7 separate regions of the Homo sapiens genome follow, and all the other regions are linked to region 2. Evidence: promoter capture Hi-C in 16 types of primary human blood cells and fetal thymus (Javierre and others, 2016). All regions are on one chromosome and are shown on one strand. Each heading gives the region's core, a stretch centred on a gene start or on the middle of the fragment in contact. The rest is flanking DNA. Distances are from core to core; before and after follow the strand shown.

The links. Contacts are between HindIII fragments. The CHiCAGO score rates a contact against its expected background, and 5 or more counts as called.
Region 1: a fragment that was not itself captured here is called in contact with the fragment with the promoter of SRP14 in region 2 in 6 of 17 cell types (naive B cells, total B cells, naive CD8 T cells and 3 more); the score reaches 5.8 in naive B cells.
Region 3: a contact is called between a fragment that was not itself captured here and the fragment with the promoter of SRP14 in region 2, in 3 of 17 cell types (naive B cells, naive CD4 T cells and total B cells). The highest score is 9.1, in naive B cells.
Region 4: a fragment that was not itself captured here is called in contact with the fragment with the promoter of SRP14 in region 2 in 6 of 17 cell types (total B cells, naive CD4 T cells, naive B cells and 3 more); the score reaches 7.6 in total B cells.
Region 5: a contact is called between a fragment that was not itself captured here and the fragment with the promoter of SRP14 in region 2, in 10 of 17 cell types (naive B cells, total B cells, naive CD4 T cells and 7 more). The highest score is 13.3, in naive B cells.
Region 6: a fragment that was not itself captured here is called in contact with the fragment with the promoter of SRP14 in region 2 in 7 of 17 cell types (naive B cells, total B cells, activated CD4 T cells and 4 more); the score reaches 7.0 in naive B cells.
Region 7: a contact is called between a fragment that was not itself captured here and the fragment with the promoter of SRP14 in region 2, in 1 of 17 cell types (total B cells). The highest score is 5.5, in total B cells.

Annotation. Positions count from the first base shown.
Region 1 is chr15:40,408,654-40,412,803 of GRCh38, forward strand. IVD (isovaleryl-CoA dehydrogenase) reads left to right here. Exons shown (of 12, transcript NM_002225.5): 4 at 1,975-2,144; 5 at 2,607-2,700; 6 at 2,902-3,038. Among named protein-coding and RNA genes, the nearest start is that of IVD, 4.9 kb to the left of the region's middle. The HindIII fragment of the contact is 6,098 bases long and covers 1-4,150 here.
Region 2 is chr15:40,037,931-40,042,069 of GRCh38, forward strand. SRP14 (signal recognition particle 14) reads right to left here and starts at 1,251. Exons shown (of 5, transcript NM_003134.6): 1 at 1,163-1,251; 2 at 946-1,018; 3 at 352-464. The coding sequence starts at 1,186. It overlaps SRP14-DT (SRP14 divergent transcript), which reads left to right and starts at 1,381. Exons shown (of 3, transcript NR_040060.1): 1 at 1,381-1,518. LOC124903471 (a long non-coding RNA gene) reads left to right here. Exons shown (of 2, transcript XR_007064596.1): 2 at 1-479. RefSeq lists enhancers at 269-1,214, 915-964, 985-1,164, 1,215-2,159 and a silencer at 1,245-1,454. The HindIII fragment of the contact is 8,433 bases long and covers 1-4,139 here.
Region 3 is chr15:40,429,969-40,433,852 of GRCh38, forward strand. It overlaps a transcript of IVD not described here. Among named protein-coding and RNA genes, the nearest start is that of BAHD1, 9.0 kb to the right of the region's middle. The HindIII fragment of the contact is 2,091 bases long and covers 1,079-3,169 here.
Region 4 is chr15:40,299,491-40,303,196 of GRCh38, forward strand. PLCB2 (phospholipase C beta 2) reads right to left here. Exons shown (of 32, transcript NM_004573.3): 4 at 2,979-3,119; 5 at 2,780-2,859; 6 at 2,646-2,699; 7 at 2,467-2,542. Among named protein-coding and RNA genes, the nearest start is that of PLCB2, 6.6 kb to the right of the region's middle. RefSeq lists an enhancer at 2,618-3,427. The HindIII fragment of the contact is 7,575 bases long and covers 1-3,706 here.
Region 5 is chr15:40,327,009-40,331,132 of GRCh38, forward strand. No RefSeq gene overlaps it. Among named protein-coding and RNA genes, the nearest start is that of INAFM2, 5.4 kb to the left of the region's middle. The HindIII fragment of the contact is 158 bases long and covers 1,172-1,329 here.
Region 6 is chr15:40,351,802-40,355,960 of GRCh38, forward strand. PHGR1 (proline, histidine and glycine rich 1) reads left to right here. Exons shown (of 4, transcript NM_001145643.2): 2 at 1,431-1,466; 3 at 2,544-2,551. The coding sequence starts at 1,457. Among named protein-coding and RNA genes, the nearest start is that of PHGR1, 2.8 kb to the left of the region's middle. RefSeq lists an enhancer at 2,603-3,128. The HindIII fragment of the contact is 2,528 bases long and covers 953-3,480 here.
Region 7 is chr15:40,393,693-40,397,515 of GRCh38, forward strand. KNSTRN (kinetochore localized astrin (SPAG5) binding protein) reads left to right here. Exons shown (of 9, transcript NM_033286.4): 9 at 1-596. Among named protein-coding and RNA genes, the nearest start is that of IVD, 10 kb to the right of the region's middle. The HindIII fragment of the contact is 6,486 bases long and covers 1-3,823 here.

The sequences.
Region 1 (4,150 bases), core at 1,507-4,006, 370 kb after region 2:
AAAGAGATGAGCCTAGGCCAGGCGTGGTTGCTCACACCTGTAATCCCAGCACTTTGGGAGGCCGAGGCAGGTGGATCACCTGCGGTCGTGAGTTCGAGACCAGCCTGACCAACATGGAGAAACTCTGTCTCTACTAAAAATACAAAATTAGCTGGTCATGGTGGTACATCCCTGTAATCCCAGCTACTCGGGAGGCTGAGGCAGGAGAATTGCTTGAACCTGGGAGGCGGAGGTTGCAGTGAGCTGAGATTGTGCCACTGCACTCCAGCCTGGGCAACGGAGCGAAACTCCGTTTCAAAAAAAAAAGCCCAGCCTGCTTGGGCCTGTATTCACTCTGGGCATGAGAGTATGAGTGGAACCCAATATACTTCTCCTTACATCCTAGAAAGTTATATCACCTTTCATAAAATGAAACCACTTGAAGATTAATTGAAACCATCTTAATGTAAAAGCATTAGGGGAAAGGCTGCTGGGTACTCCTAAGCAAGACTCTCCTACTGTGTTTTGGGGGTTTATGTACCCCACTCCCTGCAGACAATATGCTTCTGAATCAGATTGTATTTTACGGAAGAAAGAGGCAGTTAGAAATCAGATGAAAATGGCCAGGTGTGGTAGTGGGCTCCTATAATCCGAGTGACTCGGGAGGCCAAGGCAGGAGGATCGCTTGAGCCCAGGAGTTCAAGGCTGCAATGAGCCATGGTTACACCATTGCACCCCAGCCTGGATAAGAGAGTGAGAGCCCGCCTCTTGAAAAAAAAAAAGAAAAGAAATCAGATGAAAACTCTTTCAAGGGAACCTGAAAAAGAAAGCTGGTTACAAGTTCTGGTTTCTGCATGATGTCATGGTGGCTGTTTCTAATGTCACCTGCCTTCAGGCTTTCCTTCCTGCAGTTGTAGGGGCAGGTCAAGGTTTCCTTAGAGCCTAGAACGAGCCTGACTTATTGGTCAGAGTGAACATGTGTATAGGACCTTGCTAGGCTTGACCCAATCAGCAGGGCTGGGGGTGGTATCAGGTGTCTCAGCCACTTGGAGTTTGGATCTGCTGCCAAGGAAAAACCGTATATTTTATGAGGAGTTCTGAAATTCTCTGCCAGCATCTCATCTGCCCTCTGCTGTACAGCTCACCTCAAGATTTTCCCTGAGGCTGTGGCTCTCCTGTCCTGTCACCAGTCCTGCTTCTTTCTTTTTTTTTTTTTTTTTTTGAGACAGAATCTCACTCTGTCGCCCAGGCTGGAGTGCAGTGGCGCGATCTCGGCTCTCTGCAAGCTCCACCTGCCAGGTTCACACCATTCTCCTGCTTCAGCCTCCCGAGTAGCTGGGACTACAGGCGCCCGCCACCATGCCCGGCTAATTTTTTGTATTTTTAGTAGAGACGGGGTTTCACCGTGTTAGCCAGGATGGTCTTGATCTCCTGACCTCGTGATCTGCCCACCTCAGCCTCCCAAAGTGCTGGGATTACAGGCGTGAGCCCCATGCCTGGCCTCCAGTCCTGCTTCTTTGGGTTCAGCCCTATGCTATAAAATCTCACCTTCCTCAGGCCTTTTGCAGACACATCAGATCCTCTGGCTTTGTATCTGTTCTTGGTGCTTTGGACACCACCTCCACCCCAATGCCTTTGTTTTTCTCCAGGCCCTCTTTCTTCATTTATTCATCTGCCTCTGCATTTCTGTAACTTTCTGAGTAGTGGGTGCTCAGGTTGTTCACGTATCTTCATCAAGAAGTCTGTCTGGGATAAAGCAGAAGTTGCAATGATTGCCTTCTGAATCACCCCTCAGCTGAGGAGCACCAGCAGGCAAAACCAGTCCACTGAGCTTGTAAGCAGGTCTGTGGCATCAGCTTATTCTTGTTGCTAGAGAGAATTTGGAGTAGGTGCTACAAGGTGCTTCCCTTCTGCCGTCAAATGTAAGATTCTTAATGAATGTCCCGATTTAATCTGGGCTGCGTTTTCCACTCCCTTGTACCACACCACTCACAGTTCAGTATGGCGGCTCCGGCCTGGGCTACCTGGAGCATGTGCTGGTGATGGAGGAGATATCCCGAGCTTCCGGAGCAGTGGGGCTCAGTTACGGTGCCCACTCCAACCTCTGCATCAACCAGCTTGTACGCAATGGGAATGAGGCCCAGAAAGAGAAGTATCTCCCGAAGGTGAGGAAATGGAAATGTAATACACGCTAATCTCACAGTGCAACCACCAACTAAAAGATACCCTCTCCCCTTGGGGGCCAGTCAGACCTGCTTTCTGTAGCATGCTGCCATGAACCAAATGTGGTTAGGAAGGGGCCATGGATTGCTTTAAAATACTTGAGCCAAAAATAATAAAAATAGGACCAGAACTCTTGCATTGAACAACAGACAGACAACATTTGAAGAGAACTCTAAGAAATGGAAGAGTAGGACTAGCTTCCTTTGCAAAGGGAATGGAAAAAGGAGAGGCATTTTCAGCCTTGTAGCCATTGGGCTTAGAAGAGACTTCTAGGACTTTACCGACACCCTGGTCTGAGAGCGAAGTTTGAAGGGGTTTAATGTGGACAGGAAGAGGCAGTACCAGTGAGCTGCTCTAGGGTACTCTGAGGTTGTAACAAGGCCTGTTGGGGGTTTTCCTTGCAGCTGATCAGTGGTGAGTACATCGGAGCCCTGGCCATGAGTGAGCCCAATGCAGGCTCTGATGTTGTCTCTATGAAGCTCAAAGCGGAAAAGAAAGGTGAGGCCACTCTCAACTTGGGAGCCAAAATGGGCAGAGGTACAGACATTATCAGGATAATGGAGCAACAATTGTGGGTGGCCCCTGCTGGGTTTCCAGAACTTTCTCAAAGGTGGACAGCTTCTTGCTCAGCAGAAGGTCTATGGCCTGGCTGAGACAGGCCAAGATGGCTTGAGCAAATAGCCAACATCCTGCCCTTAGGAAATCACTACATCCTGAATGGCAACAAGTTCTGGATCACTAATGGCCCTGATGCTGACGTCCTGATTGTCTATGCCAAGACAGATCTGGCTGCTGTGCCAGCTTCTCGGGGCATCACAGCCTTCATTGTGGAGAAGGTGAGTATAGGTGGGTGCAGGGCCAGGAGGCTTCTGCCTCCTGACAGTGGTACCAGAGATAGCCCGTTCACTGATCTCAAATGGAATCAGTGTTGTGTGCTCTGCAAGGCCCCCAGAGGTGGGGGTGAGGCAGAGAGCAGACTGCAAGGAGGGTGACCAAAAGTCCAGGAAGTCCAGGGCAGATGGGTCACTTCTGAAGACGGTGGAGCCGTCCTCAGCGCCAGGCCACACAAAGAGGTCTAGAAAGGGGAGGACTAAAAGGAGGTCAGGACATGACGGTCAGGGTACCATTGGTGGATCTGATGAATGTGGCCATGGGAGACTGAGGTGTGGGTGGGATGCAAGTGGAGACTGCCCCTGCAACAGCCTTGACAACAGAAGCAAGAAGGAAGCAGAGCAGGAGTTCCAATGAAAAGTTAGGAGTTTGGGTTTGTTTTTAGAAATGAGAGAACTGAGCAGATTTTTTGGTCAGAAGGAAAAAAAAGGGAAGAAAAAAGAAAATAGAGGGAGAAATTGAAAAGTGTGGGAATGAGTGGGCAGAACACAATGGTGAGCTGGGGCAGAAGAGAGAAGGATGGGTTACAGGTGATGGTGCAGGAACCACTTGCCTAACGATCATGAGGAGGAAGCCAGGGGCCCTGTGAAGGCTGGGGCCACGAGTGGGGGAGTTGGCAAGAGTTTCATGAGCGAGTATTGTAAAGGTTTGCGGTACCCTCCATAGAGAGGGGGAAAGTAGCTGTCTAGGGTTGGAGCAGTAGGGACCTGGCTGAGATTGGAAATCTCAAGGTTGCGTGATGCCACCCTCATTACAGGCTGAAGGCAGCATGTGCCAGCACTTTGCTGGTCACTTGCCAAAACATGCTGCAACCCAGTAGTCCAGGTCAAAGTACAGAGGGCTCAGTTCAGCCCTAGTGGGATCCCTTTGGGTACAGACAGGAGAACAACAGAGGATAAGGGAATTGACCGGGCTGGTGACAGTGTCTTGGAAGTAATGTCCCCTGGGGGAGGGAAATAAGGCCAGGGGGGTCGGGAGGGCTCAGGGAACTGAGCATATCATTGAGAAAGAAGTGTCCCCATGAGAACTGGGGAGAACACAAGCTAGTGGCAGAGGA
Region 2 (4,139 bases), core at 1-2,500:
GAAATAATAGCATCACCTGGTACCAAGAAACTGCTTATTGAAGGCCCAGCACAGTAAGGGGCTAAGGAATCAAATATTTATGCCAGCTGCTCCTTACAGTACTACGAATAAGGACCAATATGCTACTTTCATTTCCACAAGAGCTTTAGCAGAACTAACGACTGTCTGACCTCTACCTTCTTATTTTATTCTTGAGGTTTCCACTACTAAAGTATAGGAAGGTCCTGGTCTCAAAAATAGCCACACAGGGCAAAAGGGAAAAACAAATAAAAGCCTGGTTCAGAAACGCCCCATCCTCTGTTAAGTTCAAGTCTTTACATTTCAAAAGACAGCCTTAGAAATTAAGCTCACCACAGTGCTGATCTTCTTCTTCCCATCGGTAGCTCTTAACAGACACTTGTTGTCTGCGGGCTCAAAGCCCTCCACAGTACCCTTCTTTGGAATGGGTTTGGTTCGACCGTCATCTGAAGGAAAAAATGCATCCTGGTGAACACGGCCGCGTACGTGGCTGAGCGGCAGACAAACAGTTAAAACAGAGGAGTGGGGTAAGTGATGACCTAACCCAGCCCCGCTGCTCTAGTTTTGTTAAACACCTCATCTGCTATCACGGTCTGGCGAAACCCTGGAGAAACTATTATTTCCACGACGGAAACATGTAATATCGAAGCACGTTAAATTCCACTCAAAGTGGCGGCGTCTGGGATCCCTGACAAAGAGCCCTGGGCTGCTTGGGGCCCATTGTTACCAGAAGCAACCTAGGCGGCTCAGTGCTGGGGACTGAGCCAGCTACAATCCCTACTATTTTCCGGGCCCGAAGCCCCGAATGTGCTCAGTACAGGGTGGGGAAAGGTAGAGGAAGGCGGCGGTCCGCGGCAGACAGACTCCGGTGGCTCCCAGACACCGGGAACCCAGGGAGCATCGCCCGGCTCCCCTCCCGCTGCTTACACTTCTTCAAGGTGATATAGACGCTGCCCGACGTCCGGCACTTCTGGAAAAGTCTGGTCAGCTCCGTCAGGAACTGGAAAACAACAGGCCCAGCCCCGTTAGCCAGCCCCAAATCCTCGTCCTGCCGCGTCAAGGCCCTGGTCCTCCTGCAGGAGGCACAGGTCTCGAGTAACGCCTGAGCCGCCCCCTTCCCTCGGCCGGCCAGGCCTAGCCATACCTGCTCGCTCTCCAACAACACCATCGCGGCGACGCTGGCTCGACTCCCTCCGCTTAAGCCCCTAGCAGTGAGAGCCGGAAGTTCGGCCTAGGCTGGGCGGGACTTCCGCTACTAGACTTCCATTGTCTTCCACCAATCTCTTCTCTTCCACCAATCCCGGCCTGCGCCCTCCCCCCTCCCCGCCCGCCTAGCGCCCGCGCCCTGGGACGTCCGGGGGCCTGTGACCCGGAGGCGCTGGGGCTGTCCTGGGTCGTCACATGCGAGAAATCGTCTCACCCCAGCCAGTGTGACGGAGTGAGAGCAAAAGAAAGTTTTGATAGCAGCGTACGATTTATATTCAGCTGTATGCTGGGCAGGTAACCTAACAACTCAGTGACTCAGTTTCCTTATCCATAAAGTAAGGGTAATGATAGTATCTACCGCGCAGTGTGGTCGTGAAGCGTAAATGAAACTCAGATTAAATACGTAGAACAGTGCCTGGCACATAGAGCGTGTTCAGTAGGTATCAGCTATTGTTCTTTTCATTATTGTCATTATAAGTTCCTGTAGAGATCCTTTAAACTCTCCCTAAACGCTGACCTGCAGCTCTAGCCAGAAGGGCTGGGCCGGGCGTGGTGGCTCACGCCTGTAATCCCGGCACTTTGGGAGGCCGAGGCGGGTGGATCACGAGGTCAGGAGATTGAGACCATCCTGGCTAACACGGTGAAACGCTGTCTCTACTAAAAATACAAAAAAGTTAGCCGGGCGTGGTGGCGGGCACCTGTAATCCTAGCTACTCGGGAGGCTGAGGCAGGAGAATGGCGTGAACCCAGGAGGCAGAGCTTGCAGTGAGCTGAGATCGCGCCACTGCACTCCAGCCTGGAAGACAGAGCGAGACTCCGTCTCAAAAAAAAAAAAAAAAAAAAAAAAAATGAGGGGCTGGAGCCCAGTCTTTAGTTCTACCTCTGATTAGTCAGGAGAACTAGGTTGTAAGCCCTCTCTGCCACTAGCCAACTTGAACCCTGGGCCCTCTATAAAGTCAAGCATTCCACCACACAAGAGGTTTTCGCTGAGTGCCTCTCAGTCTGTGCCAGGCACGGTTGTAGAGGTTGGGGATGCAGCAGGATAAGAAAAGCTAAGTTCCTGGTTTCCTGGAAGTTGGGTTAAAGGGGCAGGGAGGAAATAAACAATGAAGCAAACAAGTAAGTAGTACAGCTTCAGATAATGAATTCCGTGAGACAGCCTAAGCAGGGCTGTATAATGAGAGTGGGAAGGGGACTGCCTGGGTTGGGGTCAGGGGAGTTCTCGTCGAAAAGGAGAACTTTGAGTTGAAAGCTGAAAGGACCAGCCATCCAAAGATCTAGGGACACAGTGTTTCAGACACAGGGAACGGCTAGAGCAAAACCTTCAAAGGGGAAACAAGTTGCCCTGTGTCTGTAAGACTGGCAGGTGCGGGTGGGGGTGAGGAGGGCTTGTGGAGCAAGGAGTAAAGGAGTATGGAGAGGTAGCTGGGGACCAGATTATGTAGGGCCCGTGACCATAGTAAGCCTGGATTTTGTTCTAGATACAAAGAGAAGACTCGTTAAGGAAGTTTTCAACAGAACACTGAAAATCTGATTTATATTTTTTAAAGATCCCCCTGTCTGTGTTGTGGAGAATGCACTGTAGAGAGACAGGGCAGGAAATGAGGAGCCCAGTTAGGAGATTCAAACTTAATGGCTTAAATATGTTCACTCTCTGATTTCACATTTTCTTCCAAATGGCCAGCGCCCGTTGCCCACTTCCTGCCCTAGGCTGATGACCTTGTGTAGCCAACCTGTATTGGCTTTTGGTTCTCCAGCATTTGAACCTGTTTGCAATCCCCTGTTGTGTGGGTTTTGGTGAGAGGCAATAAATAAATAAATAGAAGGGTCAGAGGGTCACTCTCTCAACTGCCCTCAGCACCTGGGCTCAAGCATATGACCTAACGTGGGTCAATCTGGTGCTCTCAACCAGGACTTTGACTTCTGAGCTAGTAATACCAAGGCCCAGGGCTCTTGCATGGGTGTCCAGTCATTTGAATGTGAGGATGTTTTTGCTCATCTGTATTGGCAGATATCATGAAAATTATGCATGGGCCCTTTTTAAAAAAATTTTATCTCATCAGCTATCATTAGTGTTAGTGTGTTTTACATATGGCCCAGGACGATTCTTTCAATGTGGCCCAGGGAAGCCAAAAGGTTGGACACGCATGCTAGAGGTTATTCATATGGTGCCATCACAAAGTGGTCTTGTGTTGGCGGCCCTATAGGAGGGGTTTTCACCAGACTGTTCTAATCTTTGCTAGTCTTGAGGTGTGCGAAGATGACTCCCCAATTTTTAATTATAGCTTTTACCTCTGTATTGAGCTCCAAACTTGCATATTCAGCTGTCCACTTGGTAGTTCCACCTGGATGTGTAATGAGCATCTCAGATATTACGTGACCAAATCAAAACTTTTTACTTCCCACATCTTTGCTATTTATTAAATGGCACCACCGTCTGACCAGTTACTCAAATAAAAACAACCATGAATCATCCCAGATTCCTTTTTCTTTTTGAGGCAGGGTCTCACTCTGTCACCCAGGCTAGAGTGCAGTGGTGCAATCTCGGCTCACTGCAGCGTCCACCTCTCAGGCTCAAGCTATCCTCCAGCCTCAGCCTCCTAAGTACTTGGGTCTATAGGCATGAGCCGCTGCCACCAGCTGTTCTTTTTCTTTTAATTTTCACATCTACACCTGCATGAGTCCTGTTAGCTATCTTGAAAGTTTAATCTGATTGCAATCACACTAGCATCTGGACTTCTGCAAAAATCTCGGTGGCAGGCTGGATGATCCCCCAGAGATGTCTATGTCCTAGTACATGGAATGCGTGCATTGCACTGGATCCAGTGCAATTCAACTACTGATGGAATATTCTTTGGGCTTTGTTTTTCTGTGGGAAATGACCAAGAGCACCTATTCAGAAGTCAAAGTGATCG
Region 3 (3,884 bases), core at 874-3,373, 390 kb after region 2:
ATGTACAAGTCACAAAAAGTACAAATGTTGGTGATCACTCCTGAAAACAGGCAAACTGGGTCAGGATGGGTGTGTTTAAAGGTAGGGAGGCAGAGCCTGGCACGCAGTGTGGCTGCAAGAGGTAGTTTTCTAAGCTAATATGGAAGTCTAGCACTGTGGCCACCTGGCAGAGCAGTCAGGGTGCAGAGCCGCTGCGGCACAGGCAAAGGCTTGATTTCTCTGCCATTCATTCATCACTGAGTAGCTGTTACTGAGAACCTATCATGTGCAGGTACCCTGTGGGCCATGGAGAAACAGGAGGACCCAGGGAGACGCAGATGTGGTTTTCACCCTAGCCTAGCCGGGGAGGCAGATCTTAGCCAGGAATCACCGGCTTGCCAGGCTTGCTAGGAGGAGAGCATTGCAGGTTGCGGAGTGTGACTGAGCCCGAGAGATGAGATCAGAGGAGCCTCCTGGCTGGGGCGGCAACAATAGTCAGTTCCAGATTTGGATCTTTATGCTGAGTGTAAGCAGGAGTCACGGAAGGGTTTAAGCAGGAGAGTGCTATGAGGCAGTCTATTTTGGAAAGATCCCTCTGACTGGGGCAGAGTGGATGCGGGAGGCTGGGCTGTGGTTGATCACAGAGGTGGGAGGAGATTCGAGGCTGGAGACTCCAGTAAATGACAGGCTGTGGTGATGGATTAGCTATGGGTGGCGGCTTGGGAGGGAGAGGGAGGTGCCAAGGATGAGTCCAAGGTTCTTGACTCTTAAAACTGCCAGTGCACCCCACAGTGGAAACATTGGGAGAACACTGAGTTTGCTTGTAGTTGGAAGTTGGCTGAAGTGTATCTGATGTTCTTGAAAGACCATATTGATGTTTCAGTGTCAAAGAGAGTGCAGAAGGCAGGGAAAGGGTACTTTTGATAACGGCTTTGCCAAAGGAATATCTTTTTATAAAGAAATATGACAATCGACTTGCAACATTTTGCCCCCAATCTAACAGTGAGATGAATGTTGCTCACAGCAACTTCATGTGTAAAATTTGAATGAGTTGCTAACAGACATTTGGAAAACATAAGAGTAGAGAATTGTTTGGGGAAGCTTATTTAGGAAGAAGTGATGGAGAAATCATTAAAAGTGACAAGGCTGGGATGTAAACCCTGGCTCCACTATTATTACGCTTTTTTTTTTTTTGTCTTTTTTTTTCTTCCTTTTTGTGGAGAACGGGGTCTCGCTTTATTGCCCAGACAGGTCTCGAACTCCTGGGCTCAAGCTATCCTCCCACCTCTGCCTCCCTGAGACCTGGGATTACAGGTGTGAGCCACCGTGCCCAGCCGGCTCCACTATTATTAATGTGACCCTGGGAAGTTACCGAACCTCTCTATGCCTCAGTTTTCTCATTAGTAAAATGAGAATAATAACACTATCTATTTCATAAGACTGGCTGGGGATTAAGAGTATGTGTAGGCCGGGCGCAGTGGCTCACGCCTGTAATCCCAGCACTTTGGGAGGCCGAGGCAGGCAGATCACGAGGTCAGGAGACCGAGACCAGCCTGGCTAACATGGTGAAACCCCGTCTCTACTAAAAATACAAAAAATTAGCTGGGCACAGTGGCGGGCGCCTGTAGTCCCAGCTACTCGGGAGGCTGAGGCAGGAGAATGGTGTGAACTTGGAAGGCAGAGCTTGCAGTGAGCTGAGATCACGCCACTGCACTCCAGCCTGGGCTACAGAGCAAGACTCCATCTCAAAAAAAAAAAAAAGATTATGTGTAAAGAGCTTAACACAGTGCCTAACTCATGGAATCTCTCCAGGAACATTACCTATCACAGAATACACCCTGACAGAGGGAAGCAATGAAAAAGGCAATTGCTGATTTCCCATAATCCCTTTCAACAAAGAAGAGTTGTTGTCTATATAACTAAGTGTAATTTTTATAAATGCCCTTATTAGATTTTTAAATATAGTATAATATTCACAAATCAAGGGGAAAAATTGTCAGGCCTCTCATATCTAAGTCTTTTTTTTTTTTTTTTGAGATAGATTCTCACTCCATCACCCAGGTTGGAGTGCAATAGTTCCATCTTGGCTCACTGCAATCTCCACCCCCCAGGTTCAAGCGATTCTTATGCCTCAGCCTCCTGAGTAGCTGGAACTACAGATGCGTGTCACCACACCTGTAGAGACAGGGTTTTGCCACATTGGCCAGACTGGTCTTGAACTCCTGGCCTCAAGTGATCCGCCCACCTCGGCCCCCCAAAGTGCTGGAATTACAGGTGTGAGCCACTGCGCCTGGCCTATCATATCTAAGTCTTGATGTCACTTTTCCAGTTACTAATCATCTGGCCCAGTCTTGCTTAGGTCATACACTCTTTGATGTGCTCTTCAGTTTCTGAGGATCACGCCTCTGCTGGGTGGAGTAGCTTTCCTAGGTCAGAAGCAATGCTGTCTGCATGGCCTCCCAAGTCTTCTTGGTGCCTGCACAGTGCAGAGCACAGGTGGCACCATGGTTGGTTAACACCATACTTGTGGCCCAGACTGTAGTCCCCCCAGAGGGTGTCTGCTGGAAAGGGCTGGTCCTGGCTCTTGCTGTGGGTTCACTGAGGTTAAGTGAAGATGGCAAAAGAACCACAGGTGATTCTCTCCTCTGCTCTGGGTTTTGCAAGACTAGAGAGGTCAGTGGCTGTGGCTGAGAGCCTGTAGGAGATGGAACTACCTCACCTTGAGGAATGTGCTTAGGGATGCCACAGAGAATCTTTCCCGAAGAGGGAAATGGCTAGGGCCCTGGCCTTGGGAGGATGGAATGGAGAAGCCATGGGAAGAGGGGCTGGCCTCTCCTCCAAACCCAGCAAAGGGAGCCATCCTGCCTGACTGAAGCCAGAGTGGGGCCCACTGCTGGGTGGACAGAATACAGCCACAGGCACTACATTGTCAGAGCTCCAGATGGGAGACAAGGAGTACAAAACAGAGGTGGAAGACTGATTCCAGTATGGAAGCAGGGCAGGCTTCAGGCATGGCCAGATTTGGGCATGATGAAATAGATTCACAATTGCTAATGTTCTGGGGGCACTTGTGGCTACATCAGGTACTATTCTAAGTACTTTATATGTTTTAAGACACTGTAGCGCCAGGACTGTACTCAGAAAGTCTGCATTCTTAACCACTACGCTATGTGAAATGTAGAAAGAAGAAAGCTTTTAGACATATAAAGGGTTAGACCTCTATTTTATATGTTAAATGCCGTATGAAAAAAAAAGCAAAGGTTTTGGAGCCACTCCAAGCCTATGTGATCTTGGGCAGTTACTTAGATTCTCCAGGTCTCAGTTTCCTCATTTGTTTGTAAATTTGAGAGTACATTTACCTACCAGAGTTCTTGAGGGTTAAATAAAGAAACGTATGTTGAGTGCCTGTTCATGCCTTCTGTAAGAGACACCTGCCCCCTCTGGACCTCCTGCCGGCTTTGGAGGCTCTCAATACACTGCCCATTCCAGATCTGGATTTCTTCATCTTCCCAGGGGTCTGTACGTCTGGAATAAAGGAACCAACATAGTGGATGCACCCCTGGTCTTCCAGTCCACAGCACTGGGAGTTCCTCAGGGGAGAAGTCATACTCCAAGTTGATATCTGAGCGGACAAGTGTTCTGGTAACAGTAAAGGAGGTGACCCTGGAAGCTGAGGTCCCAAGCAACCCAAACCTAGATCATCACAGAAATGTCATGTTTCTTGGAATAATTCTCCCCTCTCTGTGTATTTATCCATTCAGTTTCTATTTACCAATTGTTTACTATTCAGTTCACCAAGCATTATTAGGCAACTACTATTTGCCAGGTATCATGCCATGTTCTCAGGAGTCACCTAGAAGAGCCCACAAACTCTGGACCATGTTTAATTTCCCTTTTCGTCTCCA
Region 4 (3,706 bases), core at 1,207-3,706, 260 kb after region 2:
TGAGGTAGAAAAGAGGTCAGAAGAAATGATGCTGCTTGCCAGGCTAGTAGGCTATCTTTTTTAAGTGGAGGACAAATATTCAAAAAGAAGCAATTTGAATATAAACATATATGCACCTAACAACAGAACCCCATAATATATAAAACAAAAACTGATAGAATTGAAAGGAGGACAATTCAACAATAATATTTGGAGACACCAAAAGCACCGGGACAAAGAAAGATAAATTAAACGTCATCAAAATTAAAAACTTTTGTGCTTCAAAGGACACCATCAAGAAAGTGAAAAGGTAACCCACAGAATGGGATAAAATATTTGCAAATCAGATATCCGATAAGAGATAAGTCAACAAAAAGACAACCCAGTTGAAAGATGGACAATGGATTTGGACAGGTATTTCTCCAAAGAAGATATATAAGTGACTAATAAACACAGAAAAGGTGCTCAATATAATTTGTAGTTAGAGACATGCAAATCAAAACCACAATGAGATACCACTCCCACTAGGATGGCTAAAACAAAAAACAGACAATCACAAGTGTCAGCGGGATGTGACTAACCTAAAACCCCACACAGCACTTTGGGAGGCCGAGGAGGGTGGATCACCTGAGGTCAGGAGTTCGAGACCAGCCTGGCCAACATGGTGAAACCCCATCTCTACTAAAAATACAAAAATTAGCCCAGCATGGTGGCACATGCTTGTAATCCCAGCTACTTGGGAGGCTGAGGCAGGAGAATTGCTTGAACCTGGGAGGCAGAGGTTGCAGTGAACTGAGATCACGCCACTGCACTCCAGCCCGGGCAACAGAGTGAGACTCTGTCTCAAAAATAAATAAATAAATCCCTACACAATGCTCTCACTTTAGAAAACAGTTTGGCGGTTTCTCAAATTGTTAAATATAGAGTGACCACATGACCCAACAATTCCACCCCTGGGTATATACCCAAGAGAATTTACACATGTTCACACAAAATCATGTACATGAATATTCATAACCAAAAAGTACAAAAAACCCAAACATCTACCAACTGATAAACAGATGAACAAAATGTGGTATATCCATACAATGGAATATTATTAGGTGGTAAAAAGGAATGAAGTACTCATGCATGCTACAACATGGATAAACCTTGAAAACATTATGAGAAATGAATACAGCCTGACATCGAAAAGCATATATTTATGATTTCATTTACTTTACCACCAGAATAGGCAAATCTATAGAAATAGAAATGAAAAGTACATTTGTGGTATTCAGGGATTCTGCACCTTTGCATTCCTTCCCCCCCCAAAAAAAACATTAAATGTCTTTCAGAATCACACTGGAAGGCCAACATCAGTCTTAGTTTGGAGCAGAGGGTCTGAGCAGGAGAGTCTAACTGGATCTCCCCAAACCCCTCCCTGTCTCTGGAGCTTCAGCTCCAAGCAAAGTTGGGTCAGTAGCCTCTACTGAGACACAAGGAAAGCAGATAGATAAGGAGGACTTAGCCAAGGGAGGAGCTCAGGCAGCAGGAGAGAGGGAGGGTGGATGTGTGCTGACCACAGGTAAGTGTTGCTGGCTGTAGGGGAGCCGCAGGAGCCCATTCCTACCTCTCCCCAACGCCACATTTGGATCCCTGTGACTGACTGCATCAAGGAGTCACCAACTCTGCAGAGCTGTGGCTGTGGGGTAAATGCTCCTCCTGGGATTCATGTGGGCAGGTGATCAATGGGGGTCGTGGTTTTATTTATTTATAACGTTCCAAATTCTTACCAGGAGAAAATACTCCATGGGGTATAGGCTGGGACCCACACAAGAGCACTGGCCAAGCAGGGACAGGGGCTGAGATTCGCTCCATTGGCCAGGCTTGAAGCCTAGCTCAGGGCCATATCAGCCCAGAGGGCTCCTTTTTGTAATTCACACAAGTTGCTTCATGGGGTGACCCTGCTTACAACTTGTAATTAAAAATTAATTATTTAACTAAAAAGACAGGGAAAAATGCTTTTCTGTACAGAGCAGAAGTCTGCATCTTGGCAGCTTCCGCCTTTGGTTCAGTTCCTCTCCCTCGACACGCTGCAGACTTCCAGATCCCTGCAGACTGCCGCCTGCCACTGCCGACCTTATCTCGCTCCTCCAGGCTGAAAACATTCACGCTCAGCTCCCATTCCCAACACTAGACTGGGAATGCATGCCGTTTCTGCTGCCTGCCCTGAACACAGTCCATCAACCACAGCCCCAGCGCCCCCACCACCCAGGGTAGGGGATACAGACAAACCTGCTTGGAGCTCAGGGTCTCACTCCCTTGCCCTGGCTCCACCCCTGTGCCTAGTGTCAGTAACCAGCAGCTCCAGGGTTGATTGGCTCTCCAGGCTCTTGGCTGGGGCTGTGATGTCACCTCTGCTCCCCCACCCACCATTCCTGGCCAAGTTGCTTTCTGGTGGGGACAAGAATGCTGGGGGATGGGCAGGGGTGCAGATCCACTCACTTTGCCTTTGGGGAGGTGGCAGGCACTGAGAGCAGCTTCCACCCGCTTGCGGTCAGCAGGAAACATCTGGAAAAAGCTGAAGGGGCAGAGAAAGGTACCAGGTACAGAGAGGAGTCAGGCCTGAGAAAGAAAGGCTTTGGGGAGCCCCTGGAAGCCTGGGGAGGGGTTGGGGGGCTCACTTCTTCACCGGAATCTTCCCTTCAGAGTTGAGCTGCATCTTGAGCTTCACAAGGCTGGGGGCAGAAAGCAGCCCGTCAAGGCCCAGGGCTGGCATGCTCAGCACCAGGGCTCAGGCCAGGCAGAGGGCACTTACATCTTGTCCAGGAAGGTGCTGCGGGAGGCGTTGGCCGTCAGCGGATGTTTGACTAGGGCCAGTACGTCCTCAGCCCAGGCCTGCAGGACCACAGAGAGCAGCGGTCAGGCTCCTGAGCACCCCCGCCCAGGCCTGTGTCTCTCAGGAAGTCCAGGCTATCCCAGGGGCCCAGACCCAGGCCCAGTGCTCCCTGGCACACCTTGCCCACGTTCTCCTTGTAGGAGACGAAGTTGTGGAAGGTGAGGTCCACCATGTCCGGGCCGGACACCACCGTGAGTGTCTTCAGCAGGAAACTGTTATCAGGAAAGTCCATGTTGAAGACGTCCCGGAGCTTCTGGCTCTGCAGCACGTGGTGGTATGGTTAGGATGGAGGTGTGCTCCCTCCCTGCCCAGTGTGGCTCTCTCTGGCCCTCCCCTCAGCCACTTGGGCTATGGCCCACTGGGCAGAACCCCATCCCCATCCCAGGAACCACAGGCCTTAGCATCTTCCTGTCCCTGACTCCAGCGGCTGGGATGGGAAGGAGAGGCCCTGAGGAAAAGGTTAGCCAAGATGGCGGGCAGGCGGGGAGGCCGGCCTGGGAGTCCTGTGTGTGTTGGTTGCCACTTTTGTTTGAAGATAGATTCTTAGCTCCCAGTCTCAGGAAACCCCGCTTCCCACCAATCCCTTCCTCCAATTTTCCTACCAGCATTAGGCAAATATAGGCAAACTAGTCCGGGGGTGGGGGTGTAAGCCACCCCTCCCAGACAGACTGGGGTGCTTTAGGGGCAGGAGGTGACCCCTCCTCCCAGATCCCTGCCATCTCAGCTCACTGTGCGCAGTTCTGAAGCTCAGAGCCCAGGCGAGCCCAGGAGCTGCCGCTCCCCTTCCTTGGCTTCCAGCCACGGTCCTTGCTGCCCAGCCAAGGAACCATTCCCCGTGCTTCAGAA
Region 5 (4,124 bases), core at 1-2,500, 290 kb after region 2:
ATGCCTAGCTGACAAAGCTAAGGGACCAGTAAGCATGAATATTAAGATTTACTGCAAACATTTAGCTGGCTAAGCACTGAGGTGAGGATAAGCTGCCTGATAGCATCACTGTCCTCACCTTTCAACCATTGGCCTCTAGATAACTCAAGAAGTGCTAACACCAGAAAGGCAAGTGTACATCTGTGGTGCTTGGTCAGAGCTTTGTCTACCATGGAGGAGGTAAATGGCTGAGAGGTTTAGGTTGCTTCAAAGGTGAGGTTTTTTTCTTCCCTTCAAGCAAACAAAAAAGACATGTGGGTGAAAGGCACAAATATAAGGGATTAGTTATGCTGCAAAATATATGGTAAGCAATTGAGCTCAGCTCATTATTAGACAATACTGCCCGGTACAAATCCGGAGTGAGAAGCCAGTGTTGGTGGGGCCCCCTGAGGCCTGCACTTCAGCAGAGCCGTTGGGGGGTAGCTACTGTTCTTTTACATTACCTTGTAGTCTGCAGGGAGGCATGGAAAAAGTCTGCCCTTCTTTTATTTCCCTCTTCAGCCTACACAATGGCTTTCTGAGAGAGGGCTTGGTAAGGTAGAGCAGAAGGGGAGTGAAAGAGTTTCCAAGGCTCTTTTGGTCGGCCCCTCCTTTTTGCAGACAGTGACATGTGGCTTCTACAGCTGCCCACGGCGGCTTCACATGTTGGGCACATACAGCAATATGTACAGTGGGAGCCTGCTAGCCGACGAGACAGGGCCTGGTTGGCTGAGGAGCAGTGGTCTGAATAGCTTTATTTCCAAGGGTTAGAAATCAGCTGCAAAATTGTCCATCAAGTTTTAAGCCAGGAAGGAGAGATCTGTGCAGAGGGGGTTACTTTCCTTCAAAGGCTTTGCACCGGGACTACCAGGACCCTTTCTAGGTGTTTGCTTATATTAGAAGTTAACGGTGTGCATTCATTTATTCCCTGACGGCCTGAACTTGAAGAAAGAGATAAGCCTGTTTTGAAAGTGAAGTTTTGGGGGGTGGAGGATCAGGGAAGGAACCCATTAGGCTGAGTTTGTGAGGGTATCTTCACTTTCCCCATTAATGTTAAGGTACAATGAAGTGTTTCTCTGAGGTTTTAAGCATAAGAAATATTTCTCTTCCTAACAGCCCTAGATTTCCACATGGTATGAGACCATGTTTTGGAAGCTTTTCTGTCTACCTTGTTTTTTCAGTTTTCACTGGGGAATTCTGAGATAGCGTGTTCTTTCGTGGAGTATTTATATCCTGTCTTGAAATGCTGAATGCATAGCATCTACTTGTTTCTACATGTTTCTTTAAGGAGAGCTGAAAGGTCAGGTCACAAGCTTTAGGACTACCACAGCTATGTAAAAGGGGTAATAATTGTCCTCTCTTTCCTGTCTACAGAGAATGGAGGTATTTCTGGAATTTCAGTTCAGTAACAAAAGGGCCACAGCTATACTTTTCGTTTTCCATCTCCCTCAGTGGAAGGAGAAACTGCAGTGGCTTTGCCTGTTTCTCATGACCAGTACTCACTCAGTGCCTGGCAGTGGGTACTCAGAATTTGTTGATCTCTGAGTTGATCAGCACCCAGTGGGTGCTGGGTGCTGATGGAATCAGCCTTAGTGTCATTGTGGTGTCCCTGTCATAATCTACTTGCATACCCGTATCCACAGCCCATAATCTGGTTCAAGGAGGTGGGTTGCTAAAGAAAACCCCTGCAAATCATAGCTGCACTGATCTCTCTAGCCTCAGTTTTTTTATTTCCAAGTTGAAGGACTCGGCCTTGGCCTTCCTGTTCTTTCCGGGTGCCGCAAGTCCACAGTGGTATTCCATATGGTGCTTAACGGACACACCATAGGATATGTGATCCATTCATTGTCTCCTAGGTCCCAGCCCTGCAGCCTCATGTTAAGCTATAAAAATATCTGCTCTGTCGACAGTTTTTTTGGTTACCTCTGTTTTACTTGCTGACATAGCCTGTGGTTTTCTGCTGCCAGAAAGCCTGTGTTATGCTTTTTGTCCCCTCCAGTAGCTAACTGAAAAAGCAAACAAACTTCTCTTTACCCCTCACCTAGACTCTACCAGGCTTTCCACCCTAAATGCAGAAATACCCAGCATGGGAGCCACCTGGTCAGTGCTCCTCACTGGATCCTGTGCCCCATTCAATTCTATAAACATTTGTTAAGCTACCACTAAAGGACCAGAAAATCACTCTCAAGGAATTTACAGTCATGCCCGCAAGTCTCCCCTTGTCAAACTATCCTGTTTTCTTAACTTCAGTATTCTGTTTTTGCAATAGCTTATCAGTTAAATAGCAATAAGATTTTAGCCAATATCCTTAGGGATATTTTCCACAAACCATTACCTTTAATTCAAGAACTTTAGTTTAGTTTAGGTCTTTATTTGGTGTCTACAGTGTGCTAAGTAAGCCTCAAAACTCCAAAAACCAACTTGTCCAAAAAAAAGCAATTGCATTGATTACCAAGGATTTCCTTTGACATACGTATACCTTTCTCTGCTACCTCAGTGTTCAGAGTCATTAGTTGAGGTCTCCCCACACTTGTGTCCTGGAGGCCCACCTGCTCCCTCAGCTCCTTGCTGGTATCCTGGATGGTGTAGAGTCACAGCAGTCAGGCTTAGAGGTATAGACAGCTCACGGCATCACAAGGCCCTGGGCAGGGAGACTGTGTGTTCTTGGGAGGGACCCCTGAACTGGAAGATGGGAAGCCTGGGGACTCAACAATGGCATTAGTTAAGGCCCTTGACCTCTCTCTTTTCTGCTAACCAAATGGGAATTCCTGAGAGCAAATGGAGGTTATAGATATGAAAGGGCTTTGAGATCTTGGGAGTAAAAGTACAACGTGTACACATGAAGTAATATATTTTCAAGGGAATGTCTGTCCCTTGGGCAATATGATGCACAGAAAGAAATGTGAAGGGGTAGGTGGTAAACATTACACCAGTGTCTAGACTAGCAGCATCAGCGTCACCCGGGAATGTGTTAGAACAATGACAGCTTAGGCCGCATCCCAGACCAACTGAAGAAGAAATTCAGAAAGCGAAGCCCGGCATTCTGTTTTAACCAGCCTTCCAGGTGATGCTGATGCACACTGAAGTCAGAACCACTGGCCCACCCTTTTCCTCTGATGCTGTAACTTAGGGGTAGGGTATTTCTGTTTTGACAGATGGTCATCGAGGTGCCTTTTGACCCTTTCTCTTGGTTAAAGACAGCAGTCCTGCTGGGGGAAGAGGAAATAGTGTCCCTAGTGCTTATAAGAAAAGGGAAAAAGGCTGCATTGTCCATTATTTTTGACAGTTGCCACAGAACTTGCCCTGGAGAGCTTGTTAAAAAGGAGGCAGCCCTGAACGAGTCCCCTCCCTCTCCCGCGAAGGTACTGCTGTGTTTGCCTCACCTCCTGCCCTGAGGCCTGCTGCTTCTTGAGCCAGTCCTTAAAAGGAGCAGTGGGTGCCACATTTGTTCTTTCTGGTGCCAGGTCTGTGCTATTTCACTTCCCCGGCGTCAAGTGGGTGCTTAATGAGCAGCTGTGACGTAAGGCCCAGCAGACTTGAGAGAAAGCAGCTGCAGTCCATGCTTTCTGCTGGCTGCTCTCCTTCCCTCTCCCAGCCTTGAGTTCTCCCACTTTGGTGGGGTTGTGGTCAACCCCTGTCAACCCTTCCTCATGAGCCCTGATAACCCTTGCTCAGAGATGTGTGTGGGGTGTGTGGACATGGATAAGTGACTCAAGATGGAAGTGACATGGTGTCTAGTTCTATTCCCTTGGCCCCTCCCCTTGATTTAGTCCCTAAAATAAGAAAATGTGGCTGTATTAGGATTTTTGACAGTTCCTTCTTGTTTTGGGGGGTGAGTGCGATCTTTTCCTGTTGTTCTCGTCCCTGACAGGGTCGGGGCTGGAGGTGACTGTGGTGCAACCTTCCAAACTTGTGCCTTGTTAGATAAGCTAAGCTCTCCTGCTTCCAAGGATCCCCAGTTCCTGTCCCTTGACCATAGCAAACGCTAGTCATGCTGCTCCTTTGGGTGACAAAACAACTCTGGGACACACAGAGCAAACTCCTCAAGGGGGTTTGTTTCTGGGGAAAATAAGCAGAAAACTGTGATGTGAGTGTGAGATTGCTAT
Region 6 (4,159 bases), core at 967-3,466, 310 kb after region 2:
TCTCGGCTCACTGCAGCCTCTGCCTCCCGGGTTCAAGCGATTCTTCTGTCTCAGCCTCCCAAGTAGCTGGGACTACAGGTTCCCGCCACCATGCCCAGCTAATTTTTGTATTTTTAGTAGAGACGGGGTTTCACCATATTGGACAGGCTGGTCTCGAACTCCTGACCTCAAATGATCCACCCATCTAGGCCTCCCAAAGTGCTGGGATTACAGGCATGAGCCGCTGTGCCCAGCCAAAAAAAATTTTTTTAATTAGCTGGGTGTGGTGGCACATACCTATAGTCCCAGCTACTCCAGAGGTTAAGGTGGGAGGATTGCTTGAACCCTGGAGGTCGAGGCTTCAGTGAGCTGTGATCACGCCACTGCACTCCAGCCTGTATGACAAAGTGAGACTGTCTCAAAAAAACTTTTAAAGAGGCACTAAGGCTCCCTAGAAAAAAAAGAGGTTCAGGGGGCTGTGTCTTGCAAGAGGCTAGGGTTGTTGTATTGGGGGCGCTGTTTGTTTTTGTATGCTCAGCAAACTTGTAAGTACCAGAAAGCCCTGATGTCAAGTATTTGCTCCTGACGTCACATACTACACTCCCATTTGAGGGTTGAAAAAAAATGAATGTACTGTATGTTCACTGGGCCCATTCTGGGGTTGTCCATTGTGACTTGCCAGCCCCAAGCAAGACATGGCCAGCCTTGGCACCACGTTACCTCAGCAGCTCCATCTCATGACAGCACGGCTTGTTGGTGAATGACAAGTTGGCTCAGACTCCAAGCTCCCACCCCCTTCCAATCCTGGTGGGAGGAGACAGGTACAAGCAGCTAGGACCCCATGGAAGGCTTTCCATTCACTTGAGCCCCAGGGCAAAAATCCATTCACTTGTGCCCTCAGGGGCCACCAACCCCATTCCTGTCCTAGCAAACCATCCTTCCCGTCCCTGCACTGGGCACACTGATAGCTCCAAGCTTCCTGCTCCCATGCCATGCCAGATGTTTACACAAGACAAGAGTCTGTAGGGACAAGCATACCATGACCTGGCACAGGGCAGACACACAACATGAATAATTAGCAAATGAACGGATATTGAAATCTTCCCAAGAGGAATCGGATTAACACACAATTGTTGAGTCTAGGGGGGCAAGTGTAAGAGTATGGGGTGTAGGGGCTGGTACATGGTGCTGTTGTGTCTCCATCTACCCACCATGTAGGTGAACCCGCTGTGTCCATTTAACCCCCATGCCTGGCACCTACAGTGCCAGCTCTATATTGGGGCCAAGCTAAGCCGGAGGGAGCAGTTTTTTCCCTTTCTTCCTTTGAAGGGTGTGTGTGTGTGTGTGTGTGTGTGTGTGTGTGTGTGCGCGCGCGCGCGCATCCGTGGGAGGGAGAAAGGAAAGACTGCAATTTAGATTACAGTAAATTAAAAGTTACCTTTTGAACACAGGTATTCCCTGCTCTTACTCCAAAAAGATGGACCCAGGTAAGCACTGTGGCTGAGAGGCTGGGAATTGGAAGAAGGGAGAGAGCAGGAGAGCGGTAAAGGCAGGGACTATCAGTCAGCCATAACTAGTGCGTGCCAAAAATGTACGTGCGTGTGTGTTTGTATGAAGGCAGTGGTAGGGGTCCACAATGAAGACAAGCCCTTACATACTGTAGAACATGTTACAGTTTAAAAAGCATGCTTACTCATCATGTTCTTAGGTGCTTCTAAGGGTAGGTGCTTCTCCCACCGCACACTCAAGGCCCAGGGGAGCTAGGGGTTATGCTCAGGGAAAGGCCATAGAGGTGCAGCTGGGTCGGAATCCAGAATCCAGTTCTTGGGAGCTGTGCCATCGGCTTCCCTCGAAATGAACAAAAGACCGTCCTAGCCTTTAAGAAGTAGCAGGTGATTCCCACACCAATGGGGCACTTCAGAACATGCAGGACCACTCAGGTGGGTGCTGCAGGAGCCCAGTGGACCCACAGCTGGGCAGCCTGGATGGCTCCCATGTGGATTTCCTGCATGAGGGCAACACGCAGCTGCTCCAGGGAGATTTCCAAGTGGGAGGAGGCATGAGCAAAGGCCAAGAGCTGAGAACAGAAGGTCATAAACAGGAGACAACAAACAGCTCTGAGAGGCTGAGCAGAGATTGGGCCGAGATACGTGGGGCGTGACAGGGGCAGAGGACAGATGGGGAGGTTGGCAGGGCTGCTGGCCTGGAGGTAGAAGCAAGAATCAGGTGGATGACAGGGTTGGCCACCATGGAGCACCTCCAGGCTGACAGAGTTGAGACAAGAACCCATACCTCCTAACTGGCGCCACTCCACCCAGGAGGACTCAGCCAGCCCTTGAGCACACAGGGACACACTGCTGAACCTTATATTGACTTCCAATATGTATCTTTGCTGAGAGAATGAATGAAGGAATGATTGTCAGGCAAGTGACCATGTCTGAGAGGCCCTGTTGGGTTAGGGGTGTGGGCACAAAATCCTTAGTGCCAGGGAGAAGACAGGTTTTTTTTTACTGCAGAACCAAATGACCAAAGCTGCTTCTTTTTTTTCCCTTCCTCTCCCACAGGTCCGAAGGTAGGAAAGTTCCCCCAATGGTCTCCCCTTTTTCCTCCCACTGTCATGTCCTCCAGACCCCTAGCCTCCTTCCTAGACCCTCAGGGAGCAGCCACCACTTCCCCCAAATGAAAAGAAGGGAGCAGGCTCAGGCAGCAGCCCCGTGGAGTGGGGGTGGGGTGGGCAGCGCTGCACTCCTCCACCCCCTGCTGGCTGCAGCCTTCTTGGCGTTCTCTCCTCTGTTTTCCCATCTGTCTCTCTCCTTTCCTCACGTCCCCTCCCTGCCCTAGCAGCCCATCCTCTCTCCTGCTGCTTCCCCGCCTGTGCTATGCTTTTCTGCTTTCCTGGCTACCCCCACAGCCTTGCTGGATAGCTGGCTTGCTCCCAAACTCCAACCACACTATGGGGCCCCTAGGACCTACTCCTGCCAGAGAAAGGAGACTGCGTCTCCTCCACCTCTTCTCACCCACTGGCTACCACCAGCAGACTCAGTTCCTAGGCCTGGTCTGTGTGCCAACCCCCAAACAAAAGAGCCATAGGCAGAGAGGCAGGTGGGGTGGGAAGTGGCTGTTTCCAGGCATCACTGAGCCTGGATGGGGCAGGGGCTGCTCTACCATGGTCACAGGAAAGCGCCCAGCCCTGGAGCCTGCCTCTTCCCCACTGGTACCAAGCCCTAATCAAGCCCTAGGAGGCAGAAGGAGACTGGGGAGTTATCCAGCCCAGACAGTGGGAGCATAGCCCCGCCCTGCTCCACAGGGCCCCAGACCCCGAGTCCCCTACCACAGAAGCAAGGTGGTATCTCTTGCCTGCCCCCTGGGCTTGTGGCAAAAAGTTAAAAAAACAAAAAAAAAACAAAAAACTCCCCTGGCCTTGGGACTTCAGGAATGATTCCAGCCAAGATGGAAGGTTAAACCACACTTTTTCCAGACCTCTTCTGACTGAGGCAGAAAAGCTTTGATTTTACTTTCTATTCTTCCTGATTTCTTGGGTCTGGCATCCGCTCAGGAACAGGTATGAGCTCGCACATACTCATGTACACAGAACCATGCACTCCATGCACGTATCTGTGTACATACCAAGCTTGAATATGAACCCACCCATGCACACGTACACAAACATAGCTATTTTATATAAATATGGCACACACCGTCTACACACATACACACTACCTATAAAAAGAATACATACATCCTCACCTTGCCACCTCCTACCCTCCGTGTCTTCTCATCCTCCAACTGTCTTCCTTCTTCCCCTCCTCAGCTCTTTCATCTCCCCTGACCCAGCCTCCTGTCTCCCCCTGCCCCTGGCCTTCAAAGAGCTCTTCTGTAGCCTCCTCTAGCCTCACCCTTGCTCCTAAGTACAATGAGCCTGCAGTTCCTAGCATGGCAAAGCCTCTAATCACTCTGCAAGGGTTCCTGGGTGAGAGAAAGGAGAAGATGAAATAATTCTGCTTCTTAGTTGCAAATAAAATAAATCGAGGTACAGGGAGCGGGAGTCATATCTTGGCTCAAAGAATAGAAACCAATAAATCTAGGTTGCTTGCCTTTTATCTGCTCAGTGTTCTGGCCTCACCAAGGCAAAAGGCACGGGACATGCTACCCATGCCCCCAGCCCTCCACCGCAACTCCT
Region 7 (3,823 bases), core at 281-2,780, 360 kb after region 2:
CATCTCCAGAATGAAAACAATTTCTACAGTAGACTTAAGGACAGTTTATGCTGAAATGGCAATTCCTCATTTAAGCAAGTTTTCCCAACCTTCAGGTTGGTCAGCCCTCCTGAGCCTCACAGGTGGATAATTGAGGCCTACAAGAGAGGGGAGCCTAGGAGCTTGGATTGACCTTCTAGTCAACCACCTGACTTCAGCACACCATTACAATCGGGAGACTAAACCAACAACCAGAGGATCTAAAATGTCACATTCAGATTTTCAGGAAGAAAATCTTCATTACAGTGGAGCACAAATGTTCCATACAAGACATCATTGAGGAGCCATGCTGTCCCCTTCTAACCTGAAACACATTCTTTCCCATCCTGGTTGGGCTTCTGTACCTCCTTATTAATTTATGAACCTGAAGTTGCTTGAAGTGTTTTGGGCTTAATAAATGGGGTGAAAGTATAGGTAGCAGTAACACCTACATGAAACAATACACCTTGGATCTTTTAATCTAAATTACTTTTCTTTTTTAAGTCTACTTTTAAAATAAATACTTCTGTAAATATTCTGACTGTAACATTGAGGAATGAAAATAGCCTTTTAACCTAGATATGTCAGTTGATCATTATTGAACTAATTTAGTTAACAAGTCCAAGATATTCTGACTTAATCTAGAATATTTTTCTGCTACTCTTTAAGAGTCCTGTGGCTAGTCCCTCTGTCTCCCAAGAGCATTGGCTAGTCTCCTGAGGGTGTTGCCCATTTGTAGCAGTGGTTTCACCAGGTCTGTGGCCACTTGCTGCCCATGTTTTCCCTGCACTCTTTTTTTTTTTTTTTTTCTGAGACACAGTCTCACTCTGTTGCCTAGGCTGGAGTGCAGTGGCGTGATCTCGGCTCACTGCAACCTCCACCTCCCAGGTTTAAGCAGTTCTCCTGCCTCAGCCTCCCAAGTAGCTGGGACTACAGGGGCATGTCACCACGCCTTGCTAATTTTTAGTATTTTTAGTAGAGACAGGGTTTCACCATGTTAGCCAGGATGGTCTCGATCTACTGACCTCATGATCCGCCCGCCTCGACCTCCCAAAGTGCTGGGGTTACAGGTGTGAGCCACTGCACCCGGCCTTTTTTTTTTTTTTTTTTTTTGAGACAGAGTCTTGCTTACTCTATCGCCCAGCACAGTGGTGCGATCTCTGCTCACCACAACCTCCGCTGTCTGGGTTCAAGCAATTCTCCTGAGTAGCTGGGATTACAGGCACCCCACCCCCCACCACCACACCCAGCTAATTTTTGTATTTTTAGTAGAGGCGTGGTTTCACCATGTTGGCCAACTCCTGACCTTAAGTGATCCGCCCGCCTCAGCCTCCCAAAGTGCTGAGGCCAGGCATGAGCCACCACACCCTGCCATTTTTGTATTTTTAGTAGAGTCGGGTGGGGTTTTGCCCAGTTGGCCAGGCTGGCCTCTAACCCCTGACCTCAAGTAAGCCACCCACCTCAGCCTCCCAAAATGCTGGGATTACAGGCGTGAGCCACCACGCCCAGCCCTCCCTGCACTCTTAAGCATGATTATCTGCCTGCTGTTTGCTTTGCACAGCCAATCCTAGGCCTGGTCCAATAGATCCTTTAGTACATGGCCTGAAGTCCATGACAGGCCTCCCCCCGGTTTACCAAAGGCATGGCCAAATTTTTTTCTTAACCAAACTAGGCTGACTTTGGCCATCTCCTGTTCTTTCTGCACCTCCTAATTTCTTCTCCAAACCCTCCCACCCCCACCCTTCAGCATCTTTAAGGCTGCCCAGAGACACTCAGTGAAGCCAGTAACACTCCAACCTGAGCTTAAAGGGCCAAAATTGTTTGCCTTCTCATACAGACATTCACAAAGTTGGTTATGTTTCAAATATTTTGAGCCTATCCACTAAAAACTGGTCTTTGGCAAATTCTCTCAAACTGAGTTCATACCAATAAAACTGGTATGAACAGGCTGGGTGCAGTGGCTCATGCCTGTAATCCTGACACTTCGGGAGGCTGAAGTGGGTGGATCACGATGTCAGGAGTTAGAGATCAGCCTGACCATCATGATGAAACCCTGTCTCTACTAAAAATACAAAAATTAGCTGGGTGTGGTGGCACACACTTGTAGTCCCAGCTACTCGGGAGGCTGAGGCAGGAGAATCTCTTGAACCCAGAAGGCGGAGGTTGCGGTGAGCCGAGATGGCACCATTGCACTCCAGCCTGGGTGACAGAACAAGACTCTGTCTCAAAAAAGAAAAAAGTATGAATAAGTTCATACCAATAATACCTGTCTTGCTGGGTGGTTATAAAAGAGAATTATGTCCAGTACCTAACCCAGTGCCTGGCAAAGGTACTCAAATCCTGGTGGTGATATTATTAAAGTTTAAAACTTATCCTGGCAAAAGATTCCCTTCATAAATTCACCCCAAACTTCTATTCCAGTGCCCCCTTCTCCCCACCCCAAAACACAGTCGCTGATCTTACCATGCCTTTGCAGGCCTCAGTTATTCAACTTCCTTCTGACTTGGGAACTCTCAACTTTGACTCTTAAGTTCAAATTGCAACCATCTTAAAACATAAAGCCAAAACCCCACCCTTATCCCCTCCAGCTACCACATATACTATATTCACAGCCAAATATCTCAAGAAGCTATTTCCTTACCATTTTTCTTTCTCTGCCAATCTGGCTTCAAAGTACACAGAAACACTAATGTGATGTAGCTACAGTAGGCAAATCCATCCAAAGTAGAATATAGATTACCAGGGACTGAGCAGGAGGGGAGGGGAGTTTCTCTTTGGGATGATGACATTCTGGAAATGGAAAGTGGTGGTGGTTGCATAACATTGTGCATATACCTAATGCCACTGAATTGTACACTTTAAAATGGTTGAGGCCGGGTGCGGTGGCTCACACCTGTAATCCCAGCACTTTGGGAGGCCAAGGTGGGTGGATTACCTGAGGTCAGGAGTTTGAGCGGCCTGGCCAACATGGTGAAACCCTGTCTCTACTAAAAATACAAAAATTAGCCGGTTGTGGTGGCGGGTGCCTATAGTCGCAGCTACTTGGGTGGCTGAGGCAGGAGAATCGCTTGAACCCGGGAGGCGGAGGTTGCAGTGAGCCAAGATCGTGCCACTGCACTCCAGCCTGGGTGACAAGAGCAAGACTCCATCTCTAAATAAATAAATAAATAAATAAATAAATAAATAAATAAAATAGTTGAAATGGCAAACTTTAACCAGTTTGTTTTTTTTTTTTAATTTGAGGCTTAAAGTGCACTAACCTTAAGTGTACAGGTTCATAAGTTACTGTTGCTGCTGTGGAAGTGAGCACTACTCTACAAAATCACATCCATTAGTATTGTCCTTTCAAGAATTTCATATAAATGGACTCATAGTATATACTTTTTTTGAGAGAGAGAGAGGGTTTCTGTCATCCAGGCTGGAGTGCAGTGGTGCCATCTTGGCTCACTGCAGCCTGGACCTCCTGGGCTCAAGTGATCCTCCTGCCTCAGCCCCCCAAGTAACTGGGACTACAGGCACACACAACCACACCCAGCTAATTTTTGTATTTTTTGTAGAGATGAGGTCTTGCCATGTTGCCCAAGCTGTTCTCCAACACCTCAGCTCATACGATCCGCCTGCCTCGGCCTCCCAAGGTGCTGGGATTACAGGCTTGAGCCACCAAGCCCAGCTCCCCTTTTTTTTTTTTTAAGAGACGGACCAAGGCCAGAGTATAGCTTTAGGCCAGAAGTTCTTGACCAGCCTGGGCAACATGGTGATACTCCTGACTCAAAAAAAAAAAAAAAAAAAAAAAAAAGACAGCATC